Regions from separate parts of the Homo sapiens genome. Here region 1 is linked to region 2. Evidence: promoter capture Hi-C in 16 types of primary human blood cells and fetal thymus (Javierre and others, 2016). All regions are on one chromosome and are shown on one strand. The core of a region is centred on a gene start or on the middle of the fragment in contact, and the rest is flanking DNA. Distances in the headings are between cores, read along the strand shown. Region 1 has its middle 58 kb from the start of LINC02671. Region 2 holds the start of LRRTM3 (leucine rich repeat transmembrane neuronal 3).

Evidence for each region. The method cuts DNA at HindIII sites, captures the fragments that hold promoters and counts their contacts. A CHiCAGO score of 5 or more calls a contact.
Region 1: a fragment that was not itself captured here is called in contact with the fragment with the promoter of LRRTM3 in region 2 in 1 of 17 cell types (M2 macrophages); the score reaches 6.1 in M2 macrophages.

Annotation. Positions count from the first base shown.
Region 1 is chr10:64,981,443-64,984,534 of GRCh38, reverse strand. No RefSeq gene overlaps it. Among named protein-coding and RNA genes, the nearest start is that of LINC02671, 58 kb to the right of the region's middle. The HindIII fragment of the contact is 404 bases long and covers 1,522-1,925 here.
Region 2 is chr10:66,923,873-66,927,383 of GRCh38, reverse strand. It overlaps LRRTM3 (leucine rich repeat transmembrane neuronal 3), which reads right to left and starts at 1,348. Exons shown (of 3, transcript NM_178011.5): 1 at 797-1,348; 2 at 1-463. The coding sequence starts at 800. All of the region lies in intron 7 of CTNNA3 (catenin alpha 3), which reads left to right. All of the region lies in intron 3 of LOC101928961 (a long non-coding RNA gene), which reads left to right. RefSeq lists a silencer at 1,376-1,485 and an enhancer at 1,105-1,961. The HindIII fragment of the contact is 12,033 bases long and covers 1-3,511 here.

The sequences.
Region 1 (3,092 bases), core at 474-2,973, 1.9 Mb after region 2:
TTCTACCTCTTGATAGCCATTGCTTTGATTGTGTTTTGTCATCAGGATTATACTGGAAAACTCATGTTCCATCTACTTTATAATTCTTTGAAAAAATGCATCAGAATATTAATGTCAATTGTTTAAAATTTTCATTGATAGCTCTGCTCATGTCTGCAGCTGATCTTGGTGCAGTAGTTTTGGCACCCATCAAGTGGAAAATTAATTCACCTTCAATTTTTAGTAAGAATTGTGTACAATGAACAAATAAAGATGTCTATAGTGTTGGTTATTGTTTGTACTGTTAATTTTAGATCCTCTTCAATTAGGACATGAACAAAATTAACTTTTTCTCAGAAATTGATGTACATAGTTTACCACTGCAGGCTTCATCTTCGATGTTGTCTTATCTTTTCTTAAGATGAGTATTTAAAAATCATCATTTGTAAGATGCTGATTTATTTGGAGCATTGCCCCCATAAACTTTCCATAAAGCATCAGTGATTCCACCATTTTTGCACACCAGCTTCACCATAAATTTGATGTTTTTCTTGTTTAAATTTTAGCAGAATTTATGTTGCTCTGATAGGAGTTTATTTTGAAATGATGTCTTATCCTTCCTAGTGCCTCAAACTAGATCTTGTTTGAATGTGTTATAACAAATTACTACAAGTTTATTTTGGTGCAAAAAAATAGAAATCCATGAATAGGTTTTGTATATTATGCATTTTTCATGAACTCTTTGAAGACTGTTGTATATCAAATATATGTAATGTATATTTATATAATGTATCAAATTTGTAATAAATAGACTATATATACTGTACCAGGAAAGATGCAAGAGAAAAATAGAATTATAAGGTATGTCATCTGACAGAGTTATGGGGCTCATTGATCTAAGCAACATAGAGTGACAGGGTGGACAAAATTAAAATTGATTCTAGATTTCAGACTTCATAAAATAAAAATATATTTACAATTGTATAAATTATAGGCAAAAAAAATCCAAAAAAAAATCAAAAACAATAATTGCACACTAATGACATCTTAGGAAAATGTGAAGTCAATACCTGATATTCTGGGTACTTGTGGGACAACTAAATATTCTAAAGAGAGTTGGAAGTTAAGTCTAAAGAATACTTCAGTAAAAGTAATAAATAAATAAGATTAAGGTGATTTTACCGTCCTCTCACCTGGAAAGTATTGGAACCAAAGTGTTCTTTCTGTTTGTCTTGTGGTAGTTTATTAAGTGATAATTTCCTATATAAAAATACTAAAAGAAAATTCAAAATCAATCAGAAATTCATTAGTTATGAACTGTTTATGTAGAATCAATGAGCTCTCTAGAGTAATTGATTCACAATATAAGCAATTGGATCTTGAGAGAAAAGTACATGATTAGTATAGTCATGTTTGACCCAAAGAATCAATAATATATGATTCAAAATACAAGTCCAATGAAATAACAAATGAGAACATAACATTTCTATCAATGTTAAAACAAGGTATTTTTATCTAAAATAAACATTTTTTTCTTAAGCTTCATATTTTGATTATTTCACCTATCATATATACAGTAGTGACAAGAGTTATTTTCTCAGTTTACATAATATATGTATGACAACACACATTGGGACAGCTAACAATAGCAGGAGCATGTTAATTTATGTTGATTATTGTGATAACCTTAGGCTTTTACAGAGTAGAGTAGGACCTAGAACCATGACAGGATAATTAACACAAGTGGAATGCAGTGTTATCTGGTGGGAAGAATATACAAAGGAGTTCATGCCTTAGATCTAGCTCTGCCACAGTTAACTTCTTCATTATCTAAAAAAGTGAAATAAGTGATGGCTGATCTTGCCTCTATTACTCTTTCATCACATGTGATTTAAACCAAGTTAATCAGTGTCTTCCAACTGTCTGCCCATGTAGTTGGTAAAGCTTTATCACAGATATTGAAGATGAGTAGCTTTCTCTTCTGAGATTGCTAAAGTGTTAGGATGAAAGCCAGAGGAGTTGGGCCAAATATCTGGATGAGGCACACTGCATCTATGGTCATATGCATCTAAACAAAGTATTGACATGGAAAAATACACACACACACACAGCAAAGAGAGAGAGACAGAGAGAGAGAACACATAACACAAGTATAATTACATTACTATTTTTTTATACTCATTTTAATGTTATTCCTGCCAGCCTCATGAGGTCTGTTTTATTTACCATGGAATTCTCAGGACATGTAAGTTTCTGACAGAGTACAGTCAATATATGTAGAAAACATAGATTAATTTAGCTTTGGTTCCCACAGAAGCAAAGCCTAAACAGAGATTTGATAGCATACCAGTAAGGAAAAGGTAAAGAGGGAAAGACAGATAATAATGTGCATTATTGGGCTGGTTACCACTGTAGGTAACTGGAGCTTGATCCTGCTGGAGTGCTCTGGAAGCTTTATTAGAACATACAATTCAGTTATCTCTCTTGAATGTGAAATAAGCTAGAATATTTATTTATAGCCTCCTGTCACTCAGTAAAAGGGTGCTCACAAAGTTCATTTTCCCCTACCCCGATATTTTGGCAAAATAGGCTCTGATGTCCAGAGAAAGTGCGATGAGTTCAATATCAGGCAATGTGCACTGATGTGGTAAGAGCAAAGGGTTCGCACTGACATCTGACATCTGACACCATCTAATCCATGGAACAGTTAATTGAATACATGGTTCCAGTCTTCTCAGGGTCAACCAGAAAATCCCTACTTGATGTAGTTTGAATGTTTGATTCCTGCAAACCTTATGTTGAAATTCGATTCCCAATATTGGAGGCAGGACCTAATGGAAGGAGCTAGGTCATGGGGCTGAATACCTCATGAATAGAATGATGCCACCTCTGGCAGGGGTAAGGAAAGCTGAGTGAGCTCTCCCTTTATTCATTCCTGAAAAAATTGGATGTTAAAATGAGCCTGGTACCTTCCCCTACCCCTTTGCTTCCTCTCTTGCCATGTGATCTTTGCACACACTAGCTTCCCTTTGCTTTTTGCCATTAGTGGAATCAGTCTATGGCCCTTACCAGAAGCCAAACAGATGCCAGTAACATGCTTCTCAAACAGCCTG
Region 2 (3,511 bases), core at 99-2,598:
AAGCCCCGAAACTGTTCAGATCCCAGAGAATGCAGCTGATTATAGGACAGATCCAAGTTCCGTAAATTTGTCACAGGTCTGAAGGTATTGTTAAGAAAATAGGAGATTCTATTGGAACTAAGAATCAGCTCTTTGAGTCTGCGTATTCCATTAAAAGCATTTTCGTCAATATTGCTGATATGGTTATGGTCAAGGTATAGCCAGGTGAGCTGGTTGAGCCCTTTAAATTGATTATACTTAAGTTTTTGAAGGCTGTTATAGCGAAGGGACAAACCTAAGCAACCAGCAGATATACTTGAGGGTATCTCCTGTAATTTCTGAGATTCACAATATACCATTTTGCCTTCACACCTACAGCCCTTAGGGCATCCTCGTTCGGCAGAAGAAAGCATTGTCAGTAAGACAGTGGGGGCTATAACCAGTGCTACAGCTGATCCGCTCAGTAGCCTAATTACATTGAAACCTGGAAATAAAAACAACTTAGAAAAGTTATCCCCCCAAAAAAGAATTAATCCTTAATCAAGCAAAAATAGGCATATATTTTTCATTTTTAAAAATTTAAATCTAAATAACACTTAACATCACATATTATCTCTTTGTAATTAAAGAGAATTGTCTTTAGTGTTTTGTTTTTTTAAATAGTTAAACAAGGAAACATGCCACTAAGCAAATAAATTCATAGTCTTAGAGCAGAGCAAGGTAATCTCTAAAATAATTAAGGCAGAATTATTACACACACTAGAGGTTTTTTGTTTTTTGTTTTTAAGAAGGAAAGAAGAAAAATGACAAAACATACCCATCCTTTGTATTGTTCAAAGGTCGTCCTTAGGTCTTTTGCTTTGGCTTAGGGGCCAGTTGCATGACAGCCCCTGTCAGCTGCACTGTAGTGAGTCAGGGCTCGCTGACACCCAGGAAGAAAAATTGGACCCCTTGGGAGATGGACCGATTTTGGAACATTATTCTTTGCCAGCCACGCAGAACACTCCAAGAACAAATAAATCCCAACACCGCATTCGCAGCAAAACATCAAAATCTTCCTAGGTAATAGGATCTTCATGGATATTACGTTTTTGCATCTTTACAGTTTTTTGGGGGGTGGGGAGGGGGCGGTTAAAAAAAAAACTGGATCCTACAATTTCTTCTTATCGAAAAACATGATGTATTCTTCCAGGCAATTTGGGGCTACCTGAGCTGCCACATCTGTATTCCATACCCCAGCAGTTCCCGTGATGAGCACCCAGTTCAGCCACAGAGCTGCGTTGGAGCCCAGAAGGCAGGAGAGCCCCGTACCGCGCACACGCTCAGCTCACTTCTGCAGACTGTCATTCTGAAAGCTGCTCGGACTGTTGCTTTGGTTTCAGTGAATGCAGTCTTATGTAAAGCTGCCCCCAGTGGTGAAGAACATTATGGGCATGTGCAGAAATGTCTCTCTTTTATCTTGCAAATGAGCAGGCTCTCTGCTGGAAAATGAATGATTCTTTTGGGTGGCTCAGTAGGAACTGAATGGTCACCGTGATCAATAACTAGCAACATTTTCTGTGATTTCCAAGTCTTGTTTTACAATTTGGCAACGTCTTTATTGTCTGTGTCCACTTAATTGCTAAACATGTGCTGCCCAGAGTTTTTCTGGAGCTTGACATTAAGTTCACAGACCGAACGTCAATTTTTCTTAACCTCAACGCAGGCTTTAAACTGAAATTTATAAAATGAATTATTGAGCTTTTCACAGAGAAGCATTAACTGCCTGCCCATTTGACCTCTTGGAGTCACAGTGATTATATTATGCAAGGTGTCTCAGGATGTTAGAACACAAACATTTTGGAATAGAGGGGATGACTGATGACAAGTGAATTAATGTGTCCAATAGCCTTTCCGGTTTTCTCACAGACGATATAATTGATTTTATGGCTATAGTTTCGTTTGTTGTTTTGGTTGTTGTAATTCTCTTTTAATTAGAAGGGAAATAAACCATTTTTAGTGTTAGGATACGAATCAAGAGATCATTTGGTTCATACTTTATTGATGTTGCTGCTATTTATTACACTAATAATATTTATGGAGCACTTTCTAAGTGCTTTAAATGGGCTACGTTGTTTTCTCTTTAAACAATAGTATGATGTGGGTCCTATTATAACCTCTCTTTTAAAGATGAGGAAACAGACTTGGGGAGGTAACTTTCTCAAGGTCATACAGCAAGCGAGTGCTAGAGCTGAGCTTCAGAAGCGAGTCATTCTTATGCCGAACCACTAACCACTAGATGATCCTGTTCAACAACATTGTTATCTTCATTTAAAAAAGAAGTCAGTGAAAATGAAGCCGATTAAAGGATTGGGGCAAGGAAGCTGTGATTAGCAAATTCTTGCTTGTTCTATTAGAATTGCCTAAATTTCTTTTGGTCTGAGGTTCCTAAAGAAGTATAAAAACTAAGGCAGCGTAGTTTAGTGATTAACAGCATAGATTTTGGCACCTAGATTCCAACTCCTGGCTACAATTTACCAGCTATGTAACCTTAAGCGCGTTACTTACCTTCCCTATGCCTCAGTTTTCTCATCTGCAAAACGGGCATAAAAACAAAAACTCACTTCATGTTTTGAGAATTAAGTCATTTTAATATCTGTATGTTACTTAGAACAGTGTGTTGCATGCAATAAGCCTGTGTAAGATATTTGAATAATATTAACTTTATTTGTACTTGCTAGGATTACGTACTGAATATTGACTATACTGACCTTCATTAACTCACAAAGAACAACTTTAGTGAGCATTTTTAAATATTGTACATGGTGGATTTCTGAGATTTACTCAGTCTTGCCTTCTTTGATGAGATAACTTCCTTTATGTTCATCATCTGAACTTTATCTTTAAAATAAATCTTCTGGTTCTGTGGATCATGACTAATAATGTTCGATTCTTTTCATCTCCAAAGTAGAACATAATAACATCTGCCATGTAGAGGCATTTTATTTAAAAATAATGGTATTCTTGAAAAAGTTTGCCTTGTTGTTTTTTGTTAGGTGAACTGTCTGTGGAAAACCGTGGAGAGCTTTCACATTCTCCAAGGATGAGATGTTTGATAAAGGCTAGTAATGACAATCAAAAGGGGTCCTACAGATATAGTACAATGGATATTACCAATTCCTTGGGCAGTATGTTCTTAATAGGGCAGTGCTTTCCCCCAGAGTTACCTAAGCTGTGAATGCACATGAAACATCCAGTGAGTTTCTTAAAAAGATAGACTGCCCAATCCCTCCCCCAGGATTCTCATTCTAGGGGGATGGAAGAGTGTGTGCTTTTCAATAGTCTCTGATGAAATAAGTTTAAGAAACTCACTGTGAAGGAATGATTAAAAATAATATTTTCTCCTAGTAGGAAGAGAGGGTTTGCACACTTATAATACTGAGATGTAAGTTCCACAAGGACAAAGACAATGTTTTGTCTACTTCATTTTTCCTAATATCTACAACAGCACTTGGCACATTGCAGACATGCAATAAATAGCTATTGAAAAAAA